Regions from separate parts of the Homo sapiens genome. Here all the other regions are linked to region 1. Evidence: promoter capture Hi-C in human tissues and cell types (Jung and others, 2019). All regions are on one chromosome and are shown on one strand. Each heading gives the region's core, a stretch centred on a gene start or on the middle of the fragment in contact. The rest is flanking DNA. Distances are from core to core; before and after follow the strand shown. Region 1 holds the start of ZNF148 (zinc finger protein 148). Region 2 overlaps SLC12A8 (solute carrier family 12 member 8). Region 3 overlaps SLC12A8 (solute carrier family 12 member 8).

The links. Contacts are between HindIII fragments. The study calls those that stand out against the background at their distance.
Region 2: a fragment that was not itself captured here is called in contact with the fragment with the promoter of ZNF148 in region 1 in 1 of the 25 tissues and cell types used here (IMR-90 fibroblasts).
Region 3: a contact is called between a fragment that was not itself captured here and the fragment with the promoter of ZNF148 in region 1, in 1 of the 25 tissues and cell types used here (mesenchymal stem cells).

What each region holds. Positions count from the first base shown.
Region 1 is chr3:125,373,694-125,377,095 of GRCh38, forward strand. ZNF148 (zinc finger protein 148) reads right to left here and starts at 1,632. Exons shown (of 9, transcript NM_021964.3): 1 at 1,409-1,632. LOC105374080 (a long non-coding RNA gene) reads left to right here and starts at 1,733. Exons shown (of 3, transcript XR_924427.3): 1 at 1,733-3,359. RefSeq lists a silencer at 1,367-1,416 and enhancers at 1,527-1,796, 1,907-1,956. The HindIII fragment of the contact is 11,832 bases long and covers 1-3,402 here.
Region 2 is chr3:125,092,429-125,095,830 of GRCh38, forward strand. All of the region lies in intron 10 of SLC12A8 (solute carrier family 12 member 8), which reads right to left. Among named protein-coding and RNA genes, the nearest start is that of DAGARR, 33 kb to the left of the region's middle. The HindIII fragment of the contact is 9,463 bases long and covers 1-3,402 here.
Region 3 is chr3:125,108,857-125,112,258 of GRCh38, forward strand. It overlaps SLC12A8 (solute carrier family 12 member 8), which reads right to left. Exons shown (of 14, transcript NM_024628.6): 9 at 1,333-1,479. Among named protein-coding and RNA genes, the nearest start is that of MIR5092, 41 kb to the right of the region's middle. RefSeq lists enhancers at 42-121, 142-311, 1,771-1,980, 2,271-2,320. The HindIII fragment of the contact is 6,091 bases long and covers 1-3,402 here.

The DNA of each region.
Region 1 (3,402 bases), core at 382-2,881:
TTTCTTCAATGCCATCATGCCTGAATGAGAGTATTCTCTCACTGGAGAACTCCCTCACAGTTCACTTCAGGAACTGTGAATGGCAGAAGATCTCCCACCAGCCACAGATTTATGGAACCAATCCAGCCAACTAATTTGAGCTACAAATGAAGTATCTAAAGAAGAGCCAGCAAGCATGTCTTCCCCCCGACCATTAATTATAATCTTGTGTACTGCAATCCAGGCTGAATAATACGGCACCAATTCTCCTGGACCAGATAAACTGGGCAGTGAAGAAAACCACCAAGTCAATTAATTTCCATTCCAGCGTTTGCCAGGATAGTATTTACCCAACCTCGGGTAAGTGTTAATACTTCAAATTTTCTAAAATCGAAGCTCCATAGCCTAAGGAATCCCCACAGGCCAGACCCTTTCTCAAGGTCTGCTTCAGAGGTTCTCATACTCATTGGTGCACGTCTAAAATGTCACAGACCAAACTACAGACTAAAATCTAATTCTCAGTGACCCCAACCACGGCCCAGACCCACACTTACCAGATGTCATCTACTGAACAGCCCACACAGGTTCGGAACTAGGCCATCCCGGCCCATCTGGAATAACTCTTCAGTACTTAGGCCAATATTTATTAATTATACTACATCTGTCTATTCTATTATGCATTCCCTGCATCTTCTCTACTATTTAGCACTCCCTCTTGCTTCAAACGCGATCCTTTCTATTCACGGGAACTCCTATCTCCCTTCTTTCCTTCCCTGAGAAACGCTTCAGTTCTTTCCATAATGAAATACCTAACGTATCTGCACAATGAACACCCCCCAGAATCCTCAAGACTCCTCCACAGCCACCTCCCCGCATTCCTCCACCTCTCCGGCATCTTTCCTCCGGCCCCTCGCCCTGTTCGCACTCCCACTACGTTTCCTGCAAGCATTCCCTTTTCTCCAACCCCTGCCCTTCCCTTCTCCCAAAGAGCACACTCCGGCAGCAACAGTGACTGAGGCCTGCGGTGCATAAAGCACTGCACCAGGCACGGTGGACAGAGCCCTGGTGTCTCCCTAGCCTTTTCACACCCACACCCAGCACCCTCCGGCCTCCCCGTGCAAACATCCCACCTCCTCCCCTACCTCTGACACCCGCCTCCAGCCTCGGAGGCCGCCTTCTCGCCTCCGCCACCCCCGTCATTATCCCTCCTCAACCCCCCAACCCACCCTCCGCGCCCTGCTTCCTCACGTCCCCCAGCCAGCCCCAGCGTTTCCCTCGGCCTCGGCTGGCCCCCTGGCCACCCCCAGCCTCGCCACGGCTCGCTCCCCCCGGGGTCAGGCCGTTACCGCCGCGCGCTCCCCCCGCGCGCCGCCCCCTCCCCCTCCCCCGCCCTCCCCCGGGCCCGGGCCTGCCAGGCCGAGCGCTTTACCGCGGGCGGGCGCCGAGTCGCGCGGTCACCGACTGCAGGCGGCGGCAGCTCCAACCTTTCTAGGGGCCTTGAGAGGAGGGGAAGGGGGGAGGGGGGAGAACTTTTGCTGTGGCAGCTTCGGCAACAGCTCCCACCCCTGCGCCTTTCTCCTCTTCCTCCCCCTCCTCCTCCTCCTCCTCTTCCTCCTTCTCTTCCTCCTCCCAGAGCAGTAGAGACGCAGACATGCCGCAGCTAGAGCGCCGCCGCGGTCGCCGCCACTGCCGGCCCGGTGCATTGTGGGAAGCCCCGCACACGGGAAGCGCTCCGCGGCGCCCGCCCTCGTCTGGCGCAGAGACCTGGCTGGAAAGACACAGCGTGGCTTCGATTCCGGCGCCTGCGTGTCACCAGCCCAGGGTGGCCGTGGAAGCTGGACCCGAGCCGCAGGCCCCCCAGGCTGGGCCTGGGAGGAAAGCGGTTTGAAAAAGATCGGAACTGAGGAACTCTCTTAGAGCGGGGGACTCCCTGCTCCTACAGCCTTAACCAATGCCCAGCGCTTGGAAAGTGGAGGACTCGGGGATTCGGGAGCGTTTCAGGCCTGGGGAAATGGAAGGGTCGGGGACCTAGGTGAAAGGTTATTTGCCAGAAATGTCTTGGCTTTTTCATTTATTCTGTCTTACCTAGCCCTTCGCCGCCACCTCCAGTCGTTGGCCTCTTACCACCTTCAAATGCCACCTTTTCCGGAAGATGTAGCCCTGCGCCCTTGAAACTGGCAAACCCTATTAGTGTCTGCAAGCTGAGATGCAGGGTGTGGGCATAGACACAGATCAAGAGATCCGGCCCTGGACCCTCTTGGGCAGAACCTTGCCCTTCTCATTTCACCTGAAGCCCAAACTTTGTATGGCAAAGACTTGGTAATGATCTCTATAGAGCTAGGATTACACAGTTGTCTCATCCTTTGGGGGCCCTTTAGCCAAACTGTGACCTCCTTAATGGTGCCTTCGTCAGCTAACATTAGGCGCCCTGAGGTGCTTCTGCATACTGCCATCGTTTACAATTACTCATCTTTGTGTACACACCCTAGCACAAGGTCAGCCATATAACATAAAAGATGCTCAGTGAATGTTGAGTAATTGTGAGCATCTGGAACTTGCCGTGGGATAAAACGCGTTCATTGGGATTTCTTCATAATAATATGAAGATTCCATTTAGCGCCTCTCTGCAATACTTAAACGTAACCTTTGAGGGGAGAGGGAAAAGAAAAGGCATGAAAATATCTATAGAGCCATTTCTGGTGTTCTCCTTCCCTTTTCCACACCCGCCTTCCCACCCCTTGCCAACTAAATGTTCATTTGAATAGTGCTTTTTGGCAAAATTCCAAACTCCTGCATTATGCACTTGTGATGACACTGAATTAGATTAGTGTCTGCAAGGTTAATGTTCCCTCAGGCATTAACCTTAGTAAATCGTGATGCCTGTTTAGAAATAGCTAAGGCCCAGAGGTTCAGCTTAATTTAGACACAGGTAACTAAGAGCAAGAGTAAACCACAGCTCCACAATCAACTCTCTCTGTGTGCTTTCTCCATTAAAAAATATAAATTTTAATAAGATGACCGCACATATTCTGAATGTTAATTGCAACAAAACAATGACACAAGTTAGAGCCAAGGGACAGTTATCTGGAGGACAGCCTTCTGGCAACTTCTAGCACCCGCAGTGGCATCAAATTCAGACGTCATAATGAAAAACACCTCTGGCAGCAAGAAAGCCGACTCTCAGTATTAGGCAGTGGGAAAACTAATAACTGAAAAGGGCTCAAGGCCTGGAGGTTACATCCAATGGGCTAGGATTGATTGGTTTGCTATTAGGAATAGATCTAGTTCTCTGCTCAGCAGCCTAACAAGCGATAGAGAAACAGCTGTCTAAAATGGGCAGAACGAAGAGCACTACAGGGATAGTAACAGCAAAAGCGATGGTGAGGAGCAAGCTTAGGTCCTTTATAAGTTAAACTGGAAAAA
Region 2 (3,402 bases), core at 419-2,918, 280 kb before region 1:
GCTCAAGGCACAACTGTCCAGATATGTCATCTGGGGCAACTGGAAGCTCAGCTCTCCCCTCTTTTTCAGATGTAAGGTGTTAGAGTGGGAGAACTAGACATCTGGTATTCTTGGCTTCCAGGTGTGACCACCGGGACTGCTAGGGCAGGTTGGCTTTTGTCTAATGAGAGATGGTCTTTGCTACCTTCTGACTCTGAAAGTTAGCTCGTGTTAGACCTGTCTCAGGTATCAACCAGAAACTGATGAAGGAGAAAGATGGAGGGAGAATAGCTCCTCTGATTCCTTCCTCTGGCAATTGAAATGGCTGAGGGGAAAGGGGCCTGGCAATAAACAAATGCATGATCCTGCCTCATCCTTTCAGGCACAACAGGGCTTTCAGAGCTATGTCATGTTCTATTCAGCTCTGCATTCTCAGTTTACAGCTGGCTCCAGAAGCGCTCAATTTAAAAATAATAATAATTTTTTAATGTCAGAGTAGTGAAGTTTGGGCTTTTAGTGTAAGCCTCACCCAAATAGTGTACACTGTAGCCATTAGGCAATTTCTCATCTCTCAATCCCACCCTCCTACCTTTCCGAGTCTCCAAAGTCTATTACTCCACAATCTATGTCAATGTGTACACATTATTTAGCTCCCACTTATAAGTGAAGACATGAGGCATTTGACTTTCTATTTCTGCAGAAATGCTCAATTTAACTATGAAAATGCATCTAGATTGTTTAACAATATGGTCTAATCACCATGAACACCACAATAATGTTTCAAATAAATGATATGTTGAATTAACTTCGCAGTATGTTTATACTTCATTTCAACACTAAAACTTCAGGTGTTCTCAACCTTCATAGTTTGTTGCTCAGGAAATATAGTAGAAAGCTCCCTACATAGCCCTTCTCTGTTCTCCAATATCAAATTTCCACTTCAGCCAAACTCTCTTGACTGTGTCATCTCCTCTGCCCAGCCCTTCCTTCTTCACTACGGTCCAAATCCTGTCTCATATACCAGTGTTCTTCCCCATGTCAACCACTCCTGATGTGTTGGTTCCTGGAATCTATCTGGGATCCACGTCTCATGGATCCCCTAGCCCTCTGCTTATCTAACTCCTATGCATCCCTCAGCTCAGTTATCACTTCCTCAGGGAAATCAGCCCCCACAGGAAAATCTAAATATATTCCCACATACCATTAATATTTCCTTATGGCCCATTTCCTTCACAGCACTTACCATCATTTGTAGTTGTATACTTATTTACATGTTTCTATGCCCATTGGATTATATGCTTCATGGGGGCAGGGTCCACATCCATCTTGAGCCTAGGGCTTGGCATGTAGCAGAACTCACTAAGTATTCCTAGCCCAAGTCTCCCATCCTCTCTGGTCACTGTTGCTTTATGACCTAGCCCCTTTGAAGCACATGCCATCAGACTATTTCACACCCTACCCTTCATCATTACAGTCTTTTACCAACTTGTCATTCTTCTCTTGCTTGTTAAATATTTCAGCCCCTGGTTCACCATCTTTTTCTCTATCAGCATCCATTGTCATCATTGGTGACTTCTACAAAAACAACTCATCCAAAGCCCTACTTTCTCGATTCCTTGAAATCCTCATACTAATAATCTTTTCTTTCACTCATCCCAACTGTCAACTCCCTTAGCTGCACTTGCGGTGTGTCATTACCAGTAACCTTACACTTCCTAAATCATGACTTTCAGCAATCTACTCTCAGCCCATAACCTCCTTTAAAAGCAACGTTAAGCTCATTTGCTCTGCTGTTCCTCATTCCAACCATTCATAGTCTACAGAGGGACCTTTAGATAGTTTGCCTTAGTATGTTTTTGATTTCCATCACCTACCTCCCGCTTTCCCTAACCTCTTACCTACATACACATCTGCTCCCATGCTTCAGAATTACTCAGCAGCCTCATACCTAGGCAACTCATCCTCCTACTCTCTGATAGAACAAATTTACAAGCTCTCTTCTCCAAAGAGAACTTTTCATGTTCTCTCATCACCCAATTAGCCAATTCACTTGCATCTATACCCTCTATTCTGCCTTCCTTCCTTTCACGGTGGATGAACAGCCTCTGATCCTAACTAAGGCCCATCCCTCCACTTGTGCCAGGATCCCATCCCTTTTGGCCTGTTCAAGGACTTTGTTCTCACATCATCAATTTTTCTGTCCCCTACTGAATCATTCCCAACAAATACAAATATACTGTCTTCTCTCCCACCTAAACAAATGTCTACAGCTCACCCCTAGTTATTGTCCTATTGCTGTCTCTCCCTTATAGCAAACCTCCTCAAAAGAATTGCCTATGCAGTCTCTATATCCCATTATTTCCTCAACCCACTCTTATGATTGTATCTACTTTTCCACTAAAACTACTCTTACCAAAGTTGCCAATGATTTGAATCTTTTCAAATTCTGTGGTCAACTCCTAGCCCTCATCCCATTTGATCTTTCAGGCAGCATCTGATACATGTGATCACTTTCTCCTTCTTGGAAAAATTATCCTCTAAGATGCCTCACTCTCTTGATTTTTCTATGTCACTGCCCACTCTCTCAGTCTTCTTTGCTGGCTCGCCTCCTCCTTCCAACCTGAAAATATTGGAGTATTCCAACATTCAGTCTTCAGCACTCCTTTTTTCCATGTATACCCACTCCTAAGAGATTTCTTCTAGTCTCATGGCTTTAAATGCTACTGATATATTGATGACTCCAAGTTTACATCATCCTCGACCTCTCCCTTGAACTTAAGTTTTGAATAGCTCATTGTCTTCTCAGTATCACCCATTAGTTGGCTAATAAGCACCTTAAACTTAACATGACTAACACAGAAATCTATTCACCTCAAATCTTCATTTGAATAAATAACACCACCATTTACACAAACATGTAAGATTCATCCTGACTCCCTTCTTTCTCTCACACCTATACTTATTCCATCCATAAACCTTGTTTATTCTACTATCAGAATATATTCTGGATACAATGACTCCTCACTGCCTCCATTGCTCCCATCCTAGTCCAACCCACTTTCATCTTTCATCCATTTACTGCAGCGGGCTCCTGTGGTACAGACCCCAGCTAGAGTACAGTCCACAGGATTTCTCACTGTTAGGTGTAACCATGTGACTAAGTTCTCAGCAACAGAATGTGAACAGAAGCAGTGAGTGCCACTCCTGGCCCAAGGTCTTTAAGAGAATGTGTGCCTCTTCTCTGTGCACTTTCCCCTTCCTCTGCCTGAAATCTGAATGTGGTAACTCAGTCTTGATTCTTCACATGACTAGGTCCGAGGGCATAGTGAAGTCATACAAATGGCAGGAGCCTGGATCCCTGAGTGGATGCATGGAAGAGAGCCTCCCACGGAGTTGGAACACCCTTCTTGCACTGTAAAGCAA
Region 3 (3,402 bases), core at 344-2,843, 260 kb before region 1:
TGACACTAATTCTGACACTGAGTATCCGCAAATACTCACACACACACATTACACACACCTGTTATTAATGGAGGTGGGTATGGTGACCTTCAGGTGGACAGGAGTGGAAAAAAGGTGCTAGCTGCCTCTCCTGGGAGCTCTTCATCACAGTCACTGACATAGTTCTTGGGCCAAAAGCAACAGTCACTTCTCAGTCCCTGTCTTCTTTAACCCAGCTGGCTACTCAGTCCTCTTCGAAACACTTTCTTCACCTTACTTCTCCTGATTGGCCTCCCTCTTCACTGGCTGCTCCTTCTTGGTTTCTGTGGCTGGCTTTTCACGTCTCTGAACTCCACATTTAAAGCAGCCCCAGGCTCCATCCTCAGATCTCTATCTGTACTCCCTCCCTTGGTGAGCTCAACTAGGCTCACGGCTTTGAATACCGGCATTATACTGACAACTTCCAAATTTGAATCTCCAGCCTAAAACATTCCCCTGAAACCCAGGTTTACATATCCAACTGCCTACTCAACATTTCCAGTGAACGTCTAATAGGATCTCAAACGGACTATGTCCAAAACCAAACTGCATTTTTGGAGGAAGATAAAGGAAGAAATCAAGGATAAGTTGCAACGATGTGTTCCCTAAACCAGAGAGAGGCTGAAAATTGGAAGCGGCTGGGGAGGCCCTCTGGGGTACCCCAACAAGACAAAAATGAACTCTAGCTTGCAAACCATATTAGTGGGAAATGGGATTCTCTGTTTATGTCTCTTTGGTCCTCCCCTGGACTTTAGGAATGTCTATTTTAATCATTCCAGCCATGTCTCAACTGAGCTGCCCTTTATGTATCAGTTAAGGTTTGGTTCATGATGGTTAACAGGAAGTGTAGACGCCAGAGGTGTAGGAAATCATCAAACAGCAACCCCCAAGGGGCGGTTGAAACTCAAGGGCAGAGTTAGAGCTGCAAGGACCAGCTCGCCTCCTGACCAAAACACGCTTTCTTCTATGCTAAACCTGGAGGATCCTGAATTCATTTTCATTAAAGGATGGGGCACTGCATTTTCATGCTGCTCAGGGTCCAAGATGGTACTAGGACTGGTTAGCTAACCCAGTCCTAAAAGTGCTAAGGGGCTGGGTGGCTGGGACATTTAAGATGCTTCATCTACTTAGCCCTAACCTAAGCCAGCCAGAGGACAGGGCTGAAAGAAATGACCTCTGCATTATTTTCTGTGTCACCCCAAAGAAATTGACCAGAGGCTCTGATCAGAAAAGCTTAACCAATTGATGGGCCAACAGTGAGGTTAGCAGCAAAACATGTTTCAAAAAACAAACCAAAAAAAGAGGATTACTCACCCCTTGTCCCAGACAGGCAAGTGCAGGGATCACTTTCTCCTGGGCAATGCACTGCAGGATGCGGGGAGCTCCATAAAGTCCTCCCATGCAGGAAGCCAGGGACGAGATGTATAAGCCCAAAAGGAACAGGAAGCCCATGAGGGATACCTGTGTGAGAAGCGGTTTCATTCGCCAGTGCCAGAACCTGCTCCTGTGCCTTTCTACCCCCCCAGCACCCACCCACCTGCACCCCATGCAATCATCCACTGAGTCGTCTAGATCTGATCCCTGGGATACAGTTTCCACATCCCCAGCCTCGCCCCCATTCATTCCATGGTTTCAGCTGAATCCACCACCACATTTCATATGGATTGCACAGTGGTCCTCAAATGAAGCGTCTGCCAGACTCAGCTGCAGGGCTTGCTAAACACAAACTTCTGGGCCCCTCCTCAGAGTTCCTGGTTCAGTAGGCTTGGGGTGGGGCCTAGAAATCTGGATTCCGCATGCGTTCCCAGAGACCACACTTTGAGAACAAACTGGCCAACCACAATGCTCATTGGCCTCTTGCCTTTAAGCTCACCCTTAAAGATGAGTTTAAATCTTCAGATGATTCACTCTGAATCATCCCCTAAGCCTCTGTTCTCTAAACTCAAATCTGACCACAATGTCTCCGTTGCAGATATATCAAAATCTCCCCCTGTCCTGACATATAAGGCTCTTCATGGTCTGTGACCTCTTTAGCTCCACACCCTGCACACTGAAAGTCTGATCAGCATGATTTTTCTGTCTGTAGGAAGCCTCTGTTCACACGCCCTAATCTACTCATTGTCTGTTAAACTCCTAATTGTGCTACAAAACTCAGCACCAACCTCACCTCCACTGTGAGGCCATCCCCTCTTCCCTGACTACAGTAGTTGCTTCTCAGTGCTCCATAGCATCCCCAACATGATGTTAGGATAGCACCTATCGTGGTGCCCCCTCCACTAATCTGGAGGCTTCATTTAAGCAGGCCTTCTGTCTTGTTTACCCTAGAATTCTTGGTGCCCAACACAGAAATATAAATGACGAATGAATGAATGAGATCCATGACCCACAAGGCACCAACAGATAGAATAAGAGGGCACAGCTGTTCTTCTTGGTGTCAACTTGCAAAAGATCAGGGTCCAAGATGTTACTAGCTAACTCAGGGCTAAAAGTGCTAAGGGGCTGGGTGGCTGCATGACTGCTTGCCATGCACAGCCAGATCCCAAGCTGTCACTCATGAATTCACCCTCCTGGGCCAGATCTCATCTGTACCCACAGGAAAGCATCTTTGTTTTCTTATTTGAGGTGCCCTTTCCATTCTACTTTCCTTTAGGCACAATGGCCAGAACTGTACATTCCAAGTACTCATGCGTCCAATGCTTACAGATAGGTTAGAGTTAATATTCAGCTTTGTCACTTACACCCTTCTTGATGAAGGCTCTCCTCACCCCATTTTTTACTTCCTTGCATCAGCAAAGCACCGGATTCGTGTCACCAAGCTACATTGAACACAAGCCACTGGCTAGACTTCTTTCCTGGCTCATAAATTATCACTGGAATAATTTGACTGATGGATGAATCAGTCAGGACAGTTGATTGGAAAAAAAAAATTTCTTTAAAAAAGAATATATTTGTAGGACACTGGTGGTTTGTAGAATCATCAGGAGGCTAAAGGATGAGGCTCAGAAAAGGGCAGGACCAAGCCTGGAGGCACACCCAGCCTCTTCCCCAGGAACAGCTTGGCCAGGATGCTGCCAACACCCCTGCTGCCCTGTGGATGGATTCTCACCAGCTCTTTATCTTTACTTCATTGGTTACAATGGGAGCACGCAATGGCCTAGTGTAGGTCATGTGCCCTACCAGGGCTGCAAAGGGACAGGCAAAAGAGGTCTGGTCCATTGGGTTTCTATTACACACAATGGGGGTACTCTCTCCCTTCAAGACCATTGGTGGAATAACCCCCAAATGGTCAGGAAGGTCAGATGCTTGATGAACAAGACTAAGGTCCACTACGGAGCCCACCTTGTCTTTAATTCACTGTTGATTCCTTTCTTTATCATCTCATGC